6 separate regions of the Homo sapiens genome follow, and regions 2, 3, 4, 5 and 6 are each linked to region 1. Evidence: promoter capture Hi-C in 16 types of primary human blood cells and fetal thymus (Javierre and others, 2016). All regions are on one chromosome and are shown on one strand. The core of a region is centred on a gene start or on the middle of the fragment in contact, and the rest is flanking DNA. Distances in the headings are between cores, read along the strand shown.

Region 1 (3,213 bases), core at 519-3,018:
ATTATACAGATACATGCAAGGGTTCAGTAAAGTTTGGCAGCTTCCTAGATTGTATTGCCAGTGAATGGCAGAGGCATTATTAAACCTCCACCTTACCCTATAGCGGGGAGACCATGGCAGAGTCTCAGTAGGTGGTTGATTGTTGTTACTGATGGCTCTTCCTGAGCATGTGAACCATGGTCCTCTTCTGCCTCCTAGCACTGCTGCTGCAGGACTTGTTCCTCGGGTCTTATCCCAGAGTTCTGGCTGCATTTGACATTCAGGTATTCTTCTTTGCACTTCAGATAGAATGTAAAACACAGGTTCTTGAGTACTTTATGCTTAACTCTTGTCTTTGCTACTCAATAGCTTATGATCTTGAGTGAATTATGCCATTTTATCCCACTTCACTCACCTGTAAAACGGGGATTAAATTTTTACCTCCAAGAGTTCTTTATTTAGTATTTAGTCATCACATGCTTATTGGGCACCTACCATGTGCTGAAGATAACTGGCAAAGTCTCACGGAGCTTACATTCTAGTGTGGGAGACAGTGAGCAGGCATGATAATTACAGACTAATGCTTCATGCTTCAAAGGGAATAGGATGATGAGAGAATAACTGCGGAAGGCCTGAGGTGACATTTGAGTTCAGACGTGAGAATGAGACAGCTGAGGGAAGAGCATCCAAGGCAAAATGAACAGCAAGTGCAACAGCCCGATGACGGGAAGGGCTTGGCATGTCTGAGAAAGATAAAACAGGTGTAGCTGGAAATGCCAAGGAATGGGGAGAGTGTTGTGAGGTGAACTTAGAAATGTAGCAATAACTAGATATGGTCTTTAGGTGGTGGTTAGTTTAGATTCTGTTCTTTGAGCAAAGGGAAACCATTAGAGTTTAAAGCATGAGTGACATCTAATTTTTGAGGTAAGTCTTAGTGGAGTGCTGGGTACATAGTAGTATTAACTACGTAATATTTTAAAACAACGTGGGCAACTATATAAGAACAGATCATAGGGGGACAGGACAAGGAGTTCGAGTTAAGAGGCTGTTGTAGTCATCCAGGTGAGATGATAGTGGCTTGGGCTAGGTAGTGGCATGGGAATGGAGAAGTGGATGAATTCAAGATCTATTTTAGAGACTGCAGGATTTACTGATGGATTGGATGTAGAAGCTGTCAACAAGTGAAGAATCAAAATGACATTTACTGAGATGGTGAAAGTGAGAGGGGAGGGAATCAAGAGTTAAATTTTGGACATATTTAAGTTTGCAGTGCCTTGTAGACAATCCAGATGGAGAGACCAAGTAGGCACTGGTTATCAGTACGGATCTCTCTGAGCGGTTCATCCTGGATATATATATTTGGGAATCGTATTCATTGCTAAAGCCAGGAAACTGGATAGTCACCCAAGGAGTGTGCCTGGAAAAGACCTAACCCCAACATCAGAGGCTGGACTGAACATGAAGACATATGAGAAAAACTAAGAGTACATATGGTATCTGGGAAGCCAGGAGAAGAGATGCCTGTGAGGACGAAATAAGATGCGGGTTATCAGCCGACCCCCACTAGGCGCTCGAAAAGCTATGTGTACTATGTTGCTGGCATCTACACAGTCAGGACTAATCACAGCAACACCCACCCAATCAATCCGCATGCACACCCCGCCCCCAGCCCCTGCGCCGGGCAGCCCCACCCCCGCCTTTTCGGAGCCCTCTGGGGCGACTCCGCGGCGGCCATCTTGACTGTGGGCAGCCGGCCGTGCGCCTGCGCGGTGGCCCTTCCATCCCGGCAGTCGTGGCTGCAGCGCTGAGGCGAGAGGTTGGTGGGTGTCTCCGGCCATAATGACCCAGGCTGAGAAGGGTGATACGGAGAACGGAAAGGAGAAGGGCGGCGAGAAGGAGAAGGAGCAGCGCGGCGTGAAGCGGCCCATCGTGCCCGCGCTGGTGCCGGAGTCGCTGCAAGAGGTGCGGCTCTGGCTGGGTTGGAACTCTTTGCCCTTGCTTGGGTCCTCCGCTGCCAGGCAAGGGGCGGGAGGCGGCGGGAGGCTTCGAGTCCCCCTTGCAGGCCCCAGCCCCTGGTGGGGGGAGTGCGGAAGCGGTCGTTCTTTTCCGGGTGGTGGCGCGCCGGGACGCCGAGGGCTGGGAGGTGCGGAGCGCCAGGAGCCAGGCGGAGCCCCCGCAGGGACACCGCTCCGATCTCCCGCACGCCCCACCGTCTGGTTGTGTGCGCTCCTGCCCGGGCTCTGGCCTCAGCTTCCCCGACCATAAAACGACCACGGTGATAACCAGCCGCCTCGCAAGTTGCCGTGAGGGTTAAATGGTGGCAGATAGAGTTTAGGACCAGGCTGGCTCACTGGGAGCGTCAGCCTGTGCTTGTTAAGGGATAGTTTGGGGTCCAGGCTTTTTCCTTTGTTAAGGAAATCTCAGATAATGGAAGTCATTTCAAGCTTAAAAGCAAGGAAATGGTGGACATTTGTCTAAATATATATTAAGAGCTTGTGTATCAAAAACAACACTATTAGACCAAACTAAACTAACCAGAAAAAATTATTTGCAGTAGCGTGCCTGGCAGAGGACCTTAGATGTATACACATACACAAAACCTTACTGATCAGTAACTAAAACAGCATTCACGTAGGAAAACGGGCACAGGCAGTGTACAATTCACAGAAGAAATGAGGCATAAACTGCTCAGAAATTCATGTAGGACATCTCTGATCCAGCTTCCTTACCGGTAGATGGGTTAAGGATAATACCTAACTAGTAGGGCAGCTACTAGTTAGTTATCACTAGTATGACAGTGCCTGGCACACCGTAAGCCCAGAGTGGCCATTACTGTTGCACAGGCCTGGTTTCTCCATCTGTCTAGTTGAGAAGGCTGACTGGATGGTCTGTAAGGGCCTTGCCAGATCCTTCCCTCTAGGATTCTCCCACTCTGTGGGGGGTGATTAGGAGGAGAGAGGTCACACTTGGAGATAGGACAACAGGTATCAGAGCATGGCATGGAATGGGCTTGTGCAGAGGGCAGTATTGGGCACTCAAGCAAGTACCTCCTCCATCCCCGACAGTCAGGGAGGGTTTCTTCAAAGGAGGTGAGGTGACATCTGTTTAGAGTCCTGAAGGTGATTAGGAGCTAACCAGAGGGAGGAGGGAATCTCAGGGAAGAAGAACAGTGTGGAAGACACTTGTGCCAACAGAGGATGTGAAGTGTTGGAGGCCCAGCCAGTAGATTAGGAT
Region 2 (3,213 bases), core at 519-3,018, 2.8 Mb before region 1:
CAGCTGCTGTGAAAATTAGGTCTTAGAGAAGCAGTCAGTGCAGTGCTTAAGTACTTACTCGGAGAGTTAAATAGACCCGGTTTCAAATCTTCGGTTACCATAATTTGTCCAGTGTCTTGCAACGCTTCTTTCAAATTCTGCAAACTAGTATCTACCTCATGTCTGTTGCTGTGAGGATTAAATGGAGACAATGCACGTAAATCACTTGTCCAGTCCGTGTCTAGCACGTAGAAAGCACTCAGTAAATATTGGCTGTACTCACGATAACCCGTGATAGTTTATACTGATAAGGTAGAAACCACTATGTAAAGGGCTCTTAACTATGAAGTTGTTCCCTTTATGGGAGAGCGACGACCTGCTGTGTATTTTTTAATGTGACCGCAAGTTTATTTTTTCTTTAATATACATTTACTATAGGAAAACGTTGATGAACGTTCCAGTGGAAGAAACAGTGGAGTTAGAGGTTTATCAGTGGCCAGATTTTTAACAGAAGTAACCATAGAAAGGGAACAAATGGAGGCCAGGTGCGGTCTCCATGGCGTGTGGTGGGGGGGGGTGCGACTAAAGGAAAAAAATGGGAAAAGTTAACAGCCTCCTCCCCTCAAACTCCCCAGAACCAAATCCTGTTAACACTAGGTTGTTAAGTCCCATCAGAGGATCTCAGGTGAAAGTGCTTGCTGGAGCTGTGACACTGGGTCACACTCTCTGAGATAAAAGAGAAGGCCGGGTGCGAGTAATCTATCATAAAGATACAAGATCCGGTGAGAATAGCAGGTCGCAAAGGCTGTCGAGGCTTTTAGGCTATTACCGCCTAGCCCATTCTTTTATCTCCTCTCCAGGTTTTTGTACACATGCAAATAGTTCATAAAACCGAGATCGTCCCGCATCCACTGCTCTGAAGCCCGTTTGGGCCGAGATAACTCGTGCGCAGAGGAAGGGTTTTGCCCACAAATGGGCGACGCCTGCGCTCCGGAGAAGAGGCCAAGCTAGTCTCCCTCGCCTGCAGCGCGGCGGGGGAATCCCCGGGAACCCGAAGATCGCCAGGGGCCCACGCATTCCGCAGGCCACGGCTGCGGCGTCGAGGTCCTCGCGGGGCGTTGCGGTCGCCCCTTTTGGCGGGCTCGGGCGCCCCGAAACTCCGCCCCCCGGCGCGGTATTTCCGCACTCGCGCAGGCGGGTGCCGCGCTCCCATTGGTGGAGTGGCCCGCGGTGGCCCCGCCCCCTCCCGGCCCCGACGCGCGCACGTTGAGTGGCGGGGGAAGGCAGAAGAACTGCCCGAGGGAGGAGCGGCTCCGAGGACCGGGCAGCGCATTTGGGGTGCCCGCTACAGGGCCCCCCAAGAGGCTGCCAGGTCGGGAGCGCAGCCTGAGGCCACGGGGGGAAGGGGGTGGGTGGGCTGAGAGCAGCTCGGCGGCGAGACTGGCCCGCCGCCCCTTCCCCCCACACCCGTCGACCTTGTGGGCAGAAGCTTCCCAGAGCTCCTTAGGCCGGCGCGATGGCGACTGCTGTGGAGACGGAGGCCTGTCAGCCGACGGATGCGAGTTGGGAAAGTGGCGGCGGCGGAGACGACGAGATGAAGCAGGCGCTTCCGGAGCTTGAGTCCTCCCAACAAAATGGCGGCGGCGGCGGCCTCAACATCGCTGAGCCCAGCGGCGGCGCTGGGCGTGAGGAGAACGCGGGGGCCGAGGCCGCCCAGAGCCTCAGCCACGAGCAGCCTCAGGACTCCTCTGAGGCGGGCGCGGCCGCCCTGCCCAGAGGCCCCGAAGAGCCCGAAAGGCCTGTTAGGAGGAGTTTTCAGATCCCCAGGAAGAGCAGAGAAAAGAAAGGTGGTGCCTCCCCTTCTTCTCAACCCCCTCTCTCTCTCCCCTCCATCTTTTCATTAGAATCTTTCTATCTCCTCTTCCCACACCCATCCGAGATACGTAAACACGCATGCAGCGCCGGCCGCCTCTCCCCTCACCGCCACGGCCGCCCAGCTGCCGCGTTTGGTGCGAGAGAAAGCGGTGGAACCACGCTCCCCTGCTGCCCCTCCCCGCGGAAGTTGGAAGTAGCTCAGGTTTGAAGCTTGTCCGTAAGGCTGCAGCTCCCAGAGAGGAAAGATGGTGCTCGGCGCCCCTCCCTCCCAGCCCCTGAAAGCAGAGAAGCCGTTGTGTCCTCCTAAGGATGCTTCTGAGAAGTCTCGCTATGGAAATAGCCCGTGGCCATGGATTCTGGGGCTTTCTCCAAGGCCATTGCCAATGTTCTGAGGACCATGAGTGCTTCTCCCCGTGGAAATTCTTCAGTTCTGTGTGTCTACTTGAAATGTGCTTGATGTCAGCGTCCTCCCTTATTTAGAAATCTCTATTAGTAGATGTGATCCATGCACACTGCTGTTTTCCATCACACTTCATTTCCATGTAGATTTTTCCCCCTTGTTTTTGAAGCGTTAGATTAAATAGGTTTTTCTCTCTTTAAATTCGAACTTAGTATTGTTTTTCTTATATTTGAAAAGAATGGAAAGGTAGGTTCTTGGAGCAGTAATTTCCCAATGGAAAAAAACTAATGAGAAGTTACCTTATTCTCAAGAGTCACCAACTTGGTCTTCTAGATGGTAGAACTTCAGGTTAAAAAAAAGTCCAGTCTTAGTTTTTGGAACCCATATGGAAACAGTTACATTAATTACTTGTACTTTTAAAAAATCTTAATGCCATATTGTTAATATGGAGTCAGAATTCCTAATGGAGGTCAAAATTAGTATCGTTTTTTGTTATTGGGGTATTATTTTTTAACTATCCAGTAAATTTTGGATATTCTGAATTTAGACAACTTCCTTTTTGCCCTACTGTATGGTTAGGTTTTCATTATTTACTTTGGAAAAAAATAGGATTTGTTTTTTTCCCGTATCTTTTCCATCCATCTGGTACAGAGTCTTGGCTGTAGCATTATACTGACTTTCCATAAGCATCACCAGTTCCATTTGCACTACTGGAATTGTTTGAGCCTTTTATTGGAAAAATACAAATAAAGTTCATTTGTTTGGATGGCAAAGCCAAGAAAATACTTGGTGTGAGAAACCATGTTGACAAAGATGAAGTTAACCTTTGGAAATTAGCATGAGGAATGTTTCTAGAAATATCTTTTGAGTTAATGTAATTTTAGGGTTCAGAAAGATACTTTTAAAGGTCAAAACTCAGTTCTTTTCGTGTATTTAGTTAAAATTTGAGATGTATGATT
Region 3 (3,213 bases), core at 241-2,740, 2.7 Mb before region 1:
CAATTTTTTGCTCACACTGTTTAGATGTCTCCTGATGTTCATTTAAGACAGATTTATTTTCAGCTGGGACAGATGAAACCATTTCAGTTTTTTTGAATAATCCCATAATGTTCTCATCCTTTGGCTGATTAGAAATACTGTTTAAATATAGACTATATTGACCTAGGAGGTAAAATACATGTTTTAAAATTAACACTAAATTACATCTGTTATAATACTTGGCATAGTGCTATACAGTTCTTACATGTCTTACACGTTACTTAAATTAACTCTCAAAACAATCCTTGAGGTAGCCATTAAGTTTCCCTTCCTGTCAAAAAGAAAAAAAGGAAGCAGGGAGTGGTGGCTCACACCTGTAGTCCCAGAACTTTGGAAGGCTGACGTGGGCAGATTGCTTAAGCTCAGGAGTTCGAGATCAGCCTGGGCAACATGACAAAACCTCGTCTCTACAAAAATTACAAAAATTAGGTAGGTGTGGTGGCACGTGCCTGTAGTCCTAGCTATTTGGGACACTGAGGTGGGAGGATGGGTTGAGCCCAAGAGGTGGAGGTTTCAGTGAGCTGAGATTGTGCCACTGCACTCTGCACTCCAGTCTGGGCCAGATGTCGTCTCAAAAAAACAAAACAAAACAAAACAAAACAAAACAAAGGAAACTGAAGCCCAGAGGTTAAATGGCTTGCTCATGACCATAGCCATACAATTTCTTATATCAAATAAGGAAAACAAGCGAGCAACAACAGAAAACAAATCTCCATTTCCTCTTGCCAGCATGCTTTTAAAAATAAAAACTGGCCAGGCACGGTGGCTCACGCCTGTAATCCCAGCACTTTGGGAGGCCAAGGTGGGCGGATCACGAGGTCAGGAGATCGAGACCATCCTGGCGAACACGGTGAAACCCCGTCTCTACTAAAAATACAAAACATTAGCCGGGCGTGGTGGCGGGCGCCTGTAGTCCCAGGTACTTGGGAGGCTGAGGCAGGAGAATGGCGTGAACCTGGGAGGCGGAGCTTGCAGTGAGCCGAGATCGCACCACTGCACTCCAGCCTGGGCGATGCAGCGAGACTCCAGCCTGGGCGACGCAGCGAGACTCCAGCCTGGGCAACGGAGCGAGACTCCATCTAAAAAAATAATAATAATAAATAAAAAATAAAAATAAAAATTATATGGCTGGGTGTGGTGGCTCATGCCTGTAATCCCAGCACTTTAGGAGGCTGAGGCAGGCGGATCATGAGGTCAGGAGACTGAGATCATCCTGGCTAACACGGTGAAACCCCGTCTCTACTAAAAATACAAAAAAAAGAAAAAAAAAAAAAAGTTAGCCGGGTGTGGTGGCATGCGCCTGTAGTCCCAGCTACTCGGGAGGCTGAGGCAGGAGAATGGTGTGAACCCGGGAGGCAGAGCTTGCAGTGAGCCAAGATCGTGCCACTGCACTCCAGCCTGGGTGACAAAGCGAGACCCCATCTCAAAAAATAAATAAATAAATAAAATAAAAATTATAACACAAATCACAACCTAAAGGGGAATACAAATATCTTGATAAATACTCATTACCTTGACGTTATTTTTCTTATTTAGCTGTGAAATCAGTGGAAAACCTTTTCATGAATTGTCTCTATGCCCAGCTATAATATCAAAATCAGATGTTTTAGAGGGCTCACAGGATGGCTCAAAAAATGTTCTGATTTCTTTTGAATGTGCTAGTTCTCCCAGTGAAGAGAAAGAAATCATGAAAGTCTACGTGATTAGGCAAATTCTGCTTTTAACTTTGTTGATATGATTTCTCGTTATGCCTAATAAGCAGGTTGTTGCTAGAATTTTAGCCTTAAAGACAAAATCCAGCTCCCTCATTTTACCAAGAATAATCTATAACAAGAGAGTAAATAATTCCATCTTGAGTATCACGGGAATATTCAGGAGTTAATGGGTCCCCAAACCATTTGTGGGGCCTCTCCATGTGAACTGTTAATTTTTTATTTATTTCACTATTGCCTAATAAAATTTTAGATATTTCTATTGTCTTCATATTCGCAATTCCTTATCCCAAAGTGGAAATTAGAAGGCTTTTAAAAACACAATACAATGCCAGGACTTGTGAAAGACAAAGCATGTAACACTCTACTGTTCCTTCCAAATCTGTGTTAACCTTGTTTTTTAAAAAAAGTACTGCCATTTCTTAGCATGGAATGAGGAACAGGAAGAGTAAATGCTGTGGCCAGGAAAGCAATGTTTTTCAGTAACTCAAGTCAAATAGTCATAGTAAGGTTTCCTTAATTTTCACTGGAAATACCGTAATTTGTTTTTAAACAATGTTTCATATAACTATTTTAAATATGAGTAAAGCCTCCTATATTCTAAAATAAGTATAATAATAGTTTTTTGTACTAACATTTTTTCTAAAATCCACAGAAACTAGGTTTCTTAATATTCTGAACACTAACCTTAAAATATGGCACAACTATAAAAATAATTTTGCATATTAGAGAAAGTCCTCTAAAAGAACAATTATTTTAATAGATTGACAGGTTAAATTAGAGTTTAAGAGTCACAGTTACATAAAACCCAATGAATCTGATATTCTAAAACACATATTGAAAAAATCAAAATTCATGAAAACTTTAGAAAAATCTTACTTTTTGCCTCCTTTCCATTCTCAGTCAGGGAAAGAGATCTATTTCCTTGGTTTACAGTCATCAAAATCTGTTGTAGTTGGTCTTGTGTTAGACACACCAAACTGCTCTTCATGTTTTCAGCTGTGATGTGTTTTTTGTGAGGCTTCTGTTTACCTACTAGAGATGTATTTACGGTGTTTCTAGTCTTCTGCATATTAGGGGTTGCAGGTGAAATCTCTTTCTGGATATGAAGACAGTCTTTATCTATACATTGTTTACATAAATCCTTAGTGGATGAAAAAGTCATTCCATTTTTTTCACCTTTTGCCTGTGATGTTTCTGAACCAACTGGCTTCTTTTGCAAAAGTTTTTCACTCCCAATACAAGTATCTTGTGTTGATTTTAGAATGTGCCCAGTTTTTGTTCTTAAAGGACATTTTGCAATCTTGGCCTTATTTCCCATCTGTTAAAACACCAGAAGCTTATTCTTTATAACTGTCCAAGAAAAATCACCAATTATCTTTATATGATCTGTGATAAATCAGTCCTCTAAACTTTTTTCCATTTTGCTATTTAGGTAATATAACCATAAGAAACTAACTCT
Region 4 (3,213 bases), core at 388-2,887, 2.5 Mb after region 1:
GGAGGAAGAAAGCATCTACTGCATAAAGGAAAGAAAGGAAAACCCATAGAAATGGAAATGTAAAAAAATAAAAAGGGAAGCCACAACCCTTCATGCTGCTGTGGCCTCTGTACATGGCAACACATGAGTTCACGGCAGTAGAACGGAGACTTGGGGGTGGTTCTCTCCTGAGTGCAAGCCTCTCTGGCTCCCTGGGGTGGGGCTGGGGGACTTGCTTTTCAGACCTGGAGTGATTGGCAAGCTGCTTACTGAGGGCGGCATCCCAGCCGCCTCGTTGCCCCTCACTGCTCCCCTCGGCCGTGCTCCCAGGCCATGCGGGCCTGCTCCTCCTTAGCGCTCCCAGGAGGCAATGGAGCCTTGCGGTGCAGGCCTCGAGGCCTCTCAGTCTCTTCACGCAGCAGCACCCCCTCATCGTGCTCCAGGGCCGGCAGGCGGGGGTGGTAGGGCTTGGGCGGCAGCGCAGGCGGGTCCATGGGGTCCTGAGGGATGACGCACCCTGGGGCTGAGTGGCTTCGGCATGGCTGGGCCTTGATGGAGTCCAGGACGGCAGACTCAGAGAGGCTGTAGTGGACAGGGAGGTAGGGTGGCTCAAGATCTTCGTCAGCATTCCAGGCCTGACTTGGCATGGAGTCCATGGTGTCAGTGCGAGGTGGGGCCTCCGAGGAGTGCCCAAAGTTACTCTCACTCAAGGAGGACACGCCGCTGCTGGCACTGCCGGACAGCGTAGAGTTGCTGCCGTCCAGACCTGACTGGGGGCTTGTGGGGGAGGCTGGGATAGGGTGGAGAGGAGACTGCGAAGGAAAGGGTGGGCATGTTAGAATCCCTCTCTCCAGACAGGCTGACTTGCCCGCCATAGGAAGACCAAGAGCCTGCTTATGAATGAACTTTAACCCTCATCAACAGCATGTTTCTTGTTTCTTCAGCAGCAAGCTCCCAGCTCCTCCCACCACCCCTAAGCCAGTGGAACTCCAGAATCATCTGCATTTCTGTGGCCAAAAAATTGCCCTGCCCTGGCTGCTGGGCATTGGTGCCCCCTGGTCCCAGGTCCCAGGCTGCCGTCGGTGGCTCTGGGATACTGACATAAAGGCTGGGTCATCAGGCCTGTTGAGGAGGGGCAGAAAGAACCCTGGTGGGCCGTGGACCAGAGGAATGTATTCTGCTGCTAAAATCTGTGATAGACTCAGTCTTTTCCAATTTGCAGACAAGCTAACAGGTAGGAAATTTTACTCTCCTGAGTTTTTCATAAAGTTCTTGCTTTTACTGAATTCTAGTTTGAAATGCTCTCTGATCCACCACAGGAACATTTGTTTAGCTAGCGAACTACAGTGTGTTGATACCTTGGTGCTGGCTGAGAGCCCCCAGGTTTCCCAGTGCTCACTGCCCACACACTCTTGGTACTGTGTGTTGTTGTCTCCAGGACCCTCTGATCTCCCTGCCCCCATCACATTTGCTGCAGGACACAAATGTGCACCTGCAGCTCAAGTGTGGCTCTGGCCACCCCCAGCTTCTGCCAGGCTGGGGAGAGAGGTGAAGGGGAGGGCTCCAGTTCCTCCTGTAGACCCCAAGGGTGGTTCTAGAGCAGACGAGATGACTCATCTCACAGCCTGGTGGGGCTGCCGCTTCAGTACATTACCTTGCGCAGGGTCCGGGCAGGGAGGGCTGGGGGGGTATCACCCAGAGGGTGGTGGAAGGCGTCAAAGTGTAGGGAGTAATGACCTGCAAAGGGAACAGAACCAGAGCCTCAGCTGGGGGCCCTGCACAGACTTCATGCCAGCACCATCTTGCTGGGCCAACTGGGCAGGCATGAGAAGAGTCCCCTGGGGACCCCTCAGCATTGAGGGCTATGGATAAACCTCTCTTTACACTGGCCTTCTCCAAAACACAGGCTGCTGGGGTAAAAGAAACTCACTCCACACAGGAAGTCAGAGAAGTTGAGTGCTTCAGAGTCTGTGGAACAGGCCTCAGGCAGCGGCAGCTCTAGCCCACTGCTAGGCGATGAGACAGTCTGGTGAGAAGTGTGCCTGGCACAGTCAATTCCATTGTCTTCAGCCTTCTGGTTGGGATGGCCTTCCTGAGCTAACCTGCTGTACTCGGAAACCTCACTGACCCCAAAGCCCAGCAGGATCCTTCCTGTGGTGGGGGTGTTTTGGCTTTGGCTGAGTCGGCCCAGAGAATGGCCCATCTTCTCAGCTTAGATGGCTGTTGCTGTGGCCCTTGAGCAGAGTCTGAGACCAGGGACTATCGGGGGACCCGCTGGAGGTCTTCTTACCATGCAGCAGGCTTCGGGGAGGCACTGGGGGGGCCAGGATGCGCCCCATATGGGCAGACAGGAAGGGCTGGGCCTCTTGGGCTCCGCTATCCAGACTCCAGCTGCTGGGGGCTGCTGGCACAGCTGAAGGGTGGAAACAGATGGCATGAAGGGAGGTTACTTCTTGAGCCACCCTCTGGGAGAAGTACAGCTTGTGGCTTCTCCAGTGTGCACCACGTATCCAGCACACATGTGGGGCATGCCAGCACCTGGAACTAAAAACGCTGGCCAAGCAAGGCACTGTGGTCCACAGGGGAGAGTGGCCAGGGATTGAAGCTGCTTAAGAGGAGGGCAACAGAGTGAGTTTATGTCTAAAGAGTATTCAGGATGAGATAGCTGAATGTGCAGCAAGGAGTGAACGCCTGCAGCCTCTGGGATCTGCCAGGAGGAGAAGAGAAAACAGGACAGAAGAGTAGAGATGAGAATGAGAGAATATAGAGAGAGCACAGGACATAGAGCTCCTTGCCAAAGTCTAGAGTCAGCTCTCCTACTGCCCAGGCTCAGTGGGAAAAGCAGGGAGCAAGGACAGGTACCTGTTGGAAGAAACTGCAGCCCAGATCCAGCTGGACCCACTGCTTCCTAACAGGAGGAGGGAGGGCTGTGGAGCCGATGAGTACCCTTTGGCGTCTACAGAACCCCAGTTCCTAGCACCCACATGCCATGGATGCAGGGGTGCAGTGGGCCCAGGAAAAAGGGAAGCACAGAGTGCCCTTCTGTGTTAAAGAAGGAGTCCACTGCCAGAATACTGTCCCCTCAGCCACAGTTGGGATGACAGACTTTTCAGGAGGAGAGAGGAATGATGGCTGGACCTTGGGGTCTGAGGGTGCCACTCTGCAGAAGCAGCAGTGGACATGTGAATTCTTTTGGCCAGCTCCTCCTAGAGAACAAATACCAGCAAAAAGAAA
Region 5 (3,213 bases), core at 377-2,876, 2.5 Mb after region 1:
CGTCCTATGGTCTGACCACCAGAGGGGAGTTGGTGCCCAAGCCCTGGAGGTTTTCTCTCAGACCTTGAGCCTGACAGTTACTTGCTTAAAGAAGATTGTGCTGTGACCTCGTTAAGCTGCATTTACAGTTCTTAGATGTGCTACAGCGTGGTTAAGATTCTTAGTTCTTAAGAGCTGCATAGCTGCTGGGCAGAAGGGTCTCAGGCCGGTGGGTCTGGCATTGTTGGCTTGTGGAGAGCATGAGTCCTGGGGGATGCTGTGGATGCTGCCGCAGGGACCAGGCAAGTTTGTGGTATGGGGTGGGGACACAGTGCTGGACTTGGCTCTGGGGAGGAGGCCCCACACCCTCCTGTGACACTTCCTCCTGGAGCTCTTACAGCAGAGGAGCTGAGGCTTGCTTTGTTCAGCTGTGTTAGATAATAGTTCTTTGCCATCTCCATCTTGTTTTCCTACTCTTCACCAATACATCACCAATACAGTCAGGCCACTCTTGTGCCCACTTAGACCCAGGAACACTGGTTTTGTCAGCCATTTCTTTTGCTTACTTCCAGACTTTTTTGTATCATTGCCATGCTTTTCTTGGTTTTCCTTTGTCCACTTCAGTTTTCCTCCTAAAGGAAGTTGTGTTTGGGGATAATGAATGAAGGAAGGTTTGGGAACATGATTGCTCTCTGTTTGTCCAAGAGTTGATTCTCTTAGGCACTGGAAAAAGGCTGATGAGGGATTCTTTGCATCTAGTGGCTGCCCCTTACCACATGGGGCATTTGCAGGGCTCCAGCTCAGGGTTTGTCTGTTTTACGGGCTCAGGGTTTGTCTGTTTTATGGGGGACCTAGGTAAAATGGTTTCATAGCCTCCTGAGCTACGAGTAATCAAATTGGGCACTGAGAACTTTCCTTTTCTTTGACTCAGCGAATATTAGAGTCCCTACAAGCTAGGTACCCTGTTTCTTTCTGATTTTGATCAGCCAGACATGGTGTATCTACCTCATCTTGAGGGTCCTTTTTGCTACCACTTAAGTTTCACCCCTTAACAGATCCTTCCAGAAGTGTTAATGTGTCCGTGTGCTGCCAGAGAAGGCAGATTGTCAAGCAGAGAGGGTCCTCATCAGAGACAGTGCTGTCTTCCAGGGCGTCACACTGCTCCCGCTGGCCTCCTGCCTCTGGATGGGTAGCTACTTCTCTTGTATTGCTGCAAATTGGCCTGCACCTTTTTGGGAATATAATTTGCAGACTATATTCTGAAATTACAGAGGCATGAATCTAGGGTGACTATCTCTGCCTTGGTGGTCGGTCTTCTGAGGATTGAAGGGAGTGACTAAGGTGTTTCAGAAAAGATACATCTCTCACTTTTGCCTGGTCTTAGCCTGCCTTTCTAGTGGTCTCTTGGGGTCAGGCAGGCCTGTGCGTATCCTTGAAGGACAGCAGAGGCCAAGGGCCATGGAGGCTTACTCACTGCTCCCGTCAGCTCTGCCCCTTTGCAGCCATTTAAAGTGGCATGGGGGGAAGCTTCAGATGGCACTCGCTTGATCCCTTCAGCGCCTCCCAGGCAGGAAGCAGGGGAACTGTGTCCAGGCCCTTAGGAGAGCAAAAGGTCTCCGGGAGAATACAACTGCCAAGCAACAGGAGTATTCTCCAGAGCCAGCTCCAAGGAGTTAATTGATGTGTTTTCTTCTTTCTGGAAACTGGTAGTTAACCTTGCTCGGGCATGAATGTATGTGAGTGCAGGTGCTTCTGTAGGAAAGCTTCCTATAAGCCTAGTGTGTAATCTTGTCTCTCCCTTTTCTTCCCTTTCAGCTGACAGCTCTGACAACTCTGATTTGGAAGATGACATCATCTTATCTCTGAATGAGTGAGGAGCCATCACTGCTTGGAAGAGATTCTTGGCAGGCGAGAAACTGAGTCAAATGAATTCAGAACATATTCCCTTCTCTTTCTCCCAGGGCTGTCTGTCTTTTAAGGAGCTGCATGCCCTGCATTCAGAAGATTATGGCTTAGAGAGCCTCATTGGCACCCGAGGGTCCTTCCAGAATCAATAACCACCACAAAAATGACAACAGGGACTAGGCCCTACTCTGCACCCCCCACATCCACCCCCCACCATTTCCTAGGATGGACATATCTTTCAAGGGGAAAAAAAAACCATGTCTCTGGGGTATTTCACAATATATTTTCTTTGTATAGTGTTCTTTACTTAAAGAACAAGAAATAGTTTTTTATAAAACTTTAAAAAGGAAAAAAAAACAGGCATTTATAACTGAGGGTATGAACTTATATCCACCAGGTCTCTTGTCCCTGCACTTCATTTTCTTTGGAAGAAAATGATGTCTAAAGAACAATATAGAGGCATTTTTACATACGTATTTAAATGAAAAGGAAAATCGTGGTTTCTTAAATTGATAAGGATTAAGAATATTTTATTATAAATATAATATATGATTTTTTAACCTGTTTTGTTGCCTCATATGCTGTCAGGTTAATTTGTTTTCCTTCGTGCCAGAGGTGGGGAGGAAGGCACTCTGTCTGCTGGGTAAATGCCTAAATTCACTCACCTTCATGGTTTGGGGGCAGCATGGTCATTGTGGATATTGGTTTTGTGGAGTTGAGGGAACTTAGGATATAAGTTCACTCCCTCTATTTTTCTTTGTGATTCAGTTTTTCAAAAATCTTTTTTTCTTCCCTTTCTCCCCATTGTGGAAATTACAAATCAAAGGCCTTTTTCTTTAATGTAAAGTGTATTTATTTAAAAAAAATACAAAATAAACTACAAGTCTGTCTTTGTTTATGGCCTTTCCCTATTTTCTTTTACCGAAGTGGGGTGTGTCCCTTTTTTGCAGCTCTAGCCAGGCCATAGAGAAGACACCTTCCAGGAGAGGCAAGGAGAGCATGTTCTGCCCACATAGAGCACTCCAGGGAGGAAAGTAGCTTATACTCACAGTGTCTGCCCCTGCCGTGTAGCTCTCTCATGGGGAGGGCCTGTTTTTGTAAGGGTAATGTGGAGAGAGAGGTCAGGGCTTTGTTCCCTGTGGACGCAGCTCTCTGTTGTCATGTTCTGGATCCAGCAGGCTGCTCCCAAGTACAGATTTGGTAGAACTGGAAAGGGAGGTATTCTGGGAAGTTTTGGAGGATGGAGTTGGCAAAGCTAAGGAGTGAAAGCATTTCGGCCGTCTCTGTAGCTGGGGCAGCGGCCACTAATGTTTTCTGAAAGGGATTGTG
Region 6 (3,213 bases), core at 368-2,867, 2.2 Mb after region 1:
GAAGAAACAGTGAGTAGTAAGAGGAAAAGGCTGCTAAAAGGGGAGTCGCACAGCAGGAGGAAGTAACAATTATCCCTAAGAGGAAAAGAAGCTGTTCAAGAGCAGTCCCAGGAACATAACACAGAGGCCAGTCTGTGAGCTATTCAAGGCAGGCTGCCTAGTTCTCCAGGCAGCTTGGGGCCAGAGGCCTAACCCTCTTACACAGAGGGCTTGACCTGAGTTGCCTGGCGGGGGGGAAAAATCACAGCCCAGAGAAGACTGTTTAAAGAGGAAGGGAGCCATGTGACCCACTGGGGGGACATTCCCACCCCAATTATTTAAAAGTAATATTTAACATTTAAAAGGTTTTGAAGCTAAAAAGGCCACGCTGCAACTTTGTGGAATACTTAGCTCTGTGGAATTATTTCTTCCCTGTGGGTGCTGGGTGTTGATTTTACGCTAAAAAAAAATTGTCTTTGGAGTCAATGAGCACACAGTATTTGCTCACAAAGAGGCAAAGTAAATTTCTAAACTTTCGGTGTCAAGAAATTGAGGTGTTGCCCACTAGTCTCACCCATCTGTGCTTCTACCCATCAGTATCTCTCTCTTTTCTGCCTGTCCTACTCATCTTGTCTCCAGTAACTTTCATTCCAATTTTCTTTGATAATGATGAGAAATCTTCCACTGAATGCTTACTATACGCCAGGCACTGTCTAAATGTTGAAACACAGCTACTTCATTCACCCTCAAAGCAATCCAAAGAGGTAGGTAAGGCTAAAGGTTCAAGTAGTTAGAGGTTAAGAGACTTGCCCAAGGTAACACAGGTATTAAACAGAGCCACGTGGACCAAAATGCAGGCAACACAAGCCCAGACAGTCTGATTCCAGCCCCTCATTTCCACTTTCTCTCTCCTCTCTGGTGACTGGCTTCCAAAACGCCTGAAGCATTAAATCCTTGTTGGACATCTCTGAGCCCAAAGCTGGAAAACTCTCAGCATCTAGGCCCCCACTTGCCTTGGGAATGACAAGCCCTCACCCTGATCTGCCATCTCAGCTGAACACTTCCTGTCTCCTCAAGGAAACTTAGTATCTACCTTTCTCTTCCTCTCACTTCCCAAACTGCTCAGAAAACGGCGGGGGGGAAGAAAACCCACCTGGGGGTCTCAGAGCCTTGGTCGGCACGTGGAGAGGTAACGTGAATTTCCCCTATATTCAAGAGAAAAGGAAGAAGGTCTGGGAGCTCACCTGAAATGCCAGGCTCACTTTTAGTAACTGCTGGCATCCAGTGCGGCAGGGGCCGAGCGCTCCAGTGCTGGGAGCTGAAAGAACAGTCACCCCTGCCCAGGAAATAACCACTGAGCCAACCATCATGCCCTGATTACCGTCCTCAGGGAAAGCCTACCGGTCCCTCTAAAGCACCCTCGTCCCATTCTCAAACCCCCTGTGGAAATCAGAAGCCAAACCTAGCTTTACAATGTCAGGTCTCTTCGCTAGAGCTCTGGTCACGCCCCTCTTCCTGGAGTACTCCAATCACACTTGGCGCCCAGAAACTGCCGCTGCCGCTGACCTTGGGCAGACTGCGCCCTCCCTCTAGCCTCGGCTCCCCCTCCGCTCAGAGGCCCGGGATGGACGCGTGCGGCCGGTGCCAGCGAGCCTCAGGGAAGGCTGCGCCCAGCCAGCTTCCTGGTGCCGCTCACGTGCGCGGCGGCGGAGGGCCGGGCCCTTAAACGGCCCCCGTCCTGGGCTAAACTTCGGTGCTAGCAGAGGGCGGAAGGACTATGGAGGGTGGGGGGCCGCCGCCTCCCACTTTCGGATTCCAGCCCCTGCTCACCCCGGGCCTTGCCTATTTACTCAGAGCCTTTCTCTTCGCCCACCTCCTCACGGAGCCCCACGCACGTCTGTAACTTAAAGGACGCTAAAGTTTGCAGCCCAGGCTGCGAGGCGCGGCCTTGGGGGACGGGGGCGGAGTTAAAACGCGACTCGCGCCTCTTTCCCTCACCTCCACGGCCCCGGGGCATGCCCTGCACCGGTGGCCGCGGAAGTGGGCTGCCCGGAAGAGTAGGGGCTGCCCCAAGGTCGCATCCAGGCCCTCGGACCTGGCCGAGGCCAGCTGTGGGCAAGACAAGATGCAAAGAGCGGCCCGGGCCGCGGGGGTCACGGAGGGGACACGGAGAGTCCTGAGGTCGCGCCAGGGCGGACAGGGGGAGTCCCAGACCTACGCCCCAGTGGGTATGCCTCTCCTCTGGCCCGGCCCTCACCTCAGCAGCCGCCCGCTGCGGACGCCGATCCGCGCAGGCGGCTCAGGGTTCGGTTACGGAGCCTGCGCGCGCCCGCCGCGCACGCTCGCTCCGCCCCCTCTCGCGGCGGGACATGGCCGTGGCCGTGGGCGCGTGCGCGCGGGACCCGGAGGGCGGAGGCCTGCCCCGCCCCGTCTCCATGGCAACGGGCGTGTGCCTAGCCCCAGCGCTGGCTGCGGCGGAACCCACGGCGTACCTTCCCGCCTCCAACAAACTATCCGGTTGCTGAGGTTGATTTAGCAACACCCCAGGGCATCTGGGTTGGCAGGAGCACCACAGTGACAGCCTGGCCCAGGCTCGGGTACGGGAGGCAGCCCAGTGGCCCGCAGTAGAGGGCCAGGCTGGGGACCAGGGAGCTGGGGCTGAGGAGAATTTGTACAGCCTAGGGAGGCGCAGCACAGCAGTATCAGCCTCTGGCATTTGTACCACCTTTAGTCCTGCCACTTTCTCTCACTGTGGCTTCGCAACAGACTTGGGAACCAAGAAAGGCATAGGTGAGGAAGCTGAAGCCCAGTCTGGGCTCGCGGAAGAAACTGGTGGATCCAACTTCTGCATAGCGCAAATATCTGCTTCCTGCCTCCACCCACCCATTCCCACTTCCGTGAGTATATTCATCCATCCAACACTTATTATTACTCCTTGCCAGGACAGTTCTAGGGGCTGGGGATAGAGTGAACAAAACCAAGGTTCTGCCCTCCTGGAGTTCACGTTCCATGGGAATGCCCTTCTTCCAGGCTCCTCCCTCAGTGCCCAGGTTGTGGCTGTGGGAGGCTGGTCTACCTTTGTGGTTTAGCGGTAACTTACGTGATTCCCACGTCAAGTGTAAGCTCCTTGATGATTGGTTCAATCTTCACCTCAAATTTCTGAGGACCTACAAACTACAAAGCACTCTTCTAGGGGCCCAAAGATAAAACGCTCCCCTCGTGAAAATCCCGGAC

The links. Contacts are between HindIII fragments. The CHiCAGO score rates a contact against its expected background, and 5 or more counts as called.
Region 2: a fragment that was not itself captured here is called in contact with the fragment with the promoter of ACTR8 in region 1 in 4 of 17 cell types (naive CD4 T cells, fetal thymus, total CD8 T cells and 1 more); the score reaches 9.3 in naive CD4 T cells.
Region 3: a fragment that was not itself captured here is called in contact with the fragment with the promoter of ACTR8 in region 1 in 1 of 17 cell types (naive B cells); the score reaches 5.0 in naive B cells.
Region 4: a fragment that was not itself captured here is called in contact with the fragment with the promoter of ACTR8 in region 1 in 1 of 17 cell types (neutrophils); the score reaches 7.8 in neutrophils.
Region 5: a fragment that was not itself captured here is called in contact with the fragment with the promoter of ACTR8 in region 1 in 1 of 17 cell types (neutrophils); the score reaches 6.5 in neutrophils.
Region 6: a fragment that was not itself captured here is called in contact with the fragment with the promoter of ACTR8 in region 1 in 1 of 17 cell types (fetal thymus); the score reaches 5.6 in fetal thymus.

What each region holds. Positions count from the first base shown.
Region 1 is chr3:53,880,707-53,883,919 of GRCh38, reverse strand. ACTR8 (actin related protein 8) reads left to right here and starts at 1,768. Exons shown (of 13, transcript NM_022899.5): 1 at 1,768-1,941. The coding sequence starts at 1,819. RefSeq lists silencers at 1,552-1,641, 2,032-2,141 and an enhancer at 1,802-1,881. The HindIII fragment of the contact is 9,111 bases long and covers 1-2,425 here.
Region 2 is chr3:56,681,289-56,684,501 of GRCh38, reverse strand. It overlaps TASOR (transcription activation suppressor), which reads left to right and starts at 1,237. Exons shown (of 24, transcript NM_001365635.2): 1 at 1,237-1,826. The coding sequence starts at 1,496. RefSeq lists a silencer at 1,105-1,404 and enhancers at 1,545-1,714, 2,135-2,254, 1,462-2,406. The HindIII fragment of the contact is 596 bases long and covers 1,471-2,066 here.
Region 3 is chr3:56,563,543-56,566,755 of GRCh38, reverse strand. CCDC66 (coiled-coil domain containing 66) reads right to left here. Exons shown (of 18, transcript NM_001141947.3): 4 at 2,631-3,072; 5 at 1-162. Among named protein-coding and RNA genes, the nearest start is that of CCDC66, 8.0 kb to the right of the region's middle. The HindIII fragment of the contact is 3,205 bases long and covers 1-3,092 here.
Region 4 is chr3:51,378,628-51,381,840 of GRCh38, reverse strand. It overlaps DOCK3 (dedicator of cytokinesis 3), which reads right to left. Exons shown (of 53, transcript NM_004947.5): 52 at 1,634-1,716; 53 at 1-791. The coding sequence ends at 282. Among named protein-coding and RNA genes, the nearest start is that of MANF, 5.1 kb to the left of the region's middle. The HindIII fragment of the contact is 4,570 bases long and covers 1-3,213 here.
Region 5 is chr3:51,397,409-51,400,621 of GRCh38, reverse strand. It overlaps RBM15B (RNA binding motif protein 15B), which reads right to left. Exons shown (of 1, transcript NM_013286.5): 1 at 2,714-3,213. DCAF1 (DDB1 and CUL4 associated factor 1) reads left to right here. Exons shown (of 25, transcript NM_001387579.1): 25 at 1,795-2,780. The coding sequence ends at 1,853. Among named protein-coding and RNA genes, the nearest start is that of RBM15B, 7.7 kb to the right of the region's middle. The HindIII fragment of the contact is 236 bases long and covers 1,509-1,744 here.
Region 6 is chr3:51,670,312-51,673,524 of GRCh38, reverse strand. It overlaps TEX264 (testis expressed 264, ER-phagy receptor), which reads right to left and starts at 2,273. Exons shown (of 5, transcript NM_015926.6): 1 at 2,237-2,273. LOC124906237 (a long non-coding RNA gene) reads left to right here and starts at 2,420. Exons shown (of 2, transcript XR_007095907.1): 1 at 2,420-2,876. RefSeq lists a silencer at 2,108-2,537. The HindIII fragment of the contact is 3,279 bases long and covers 1-3,213 here.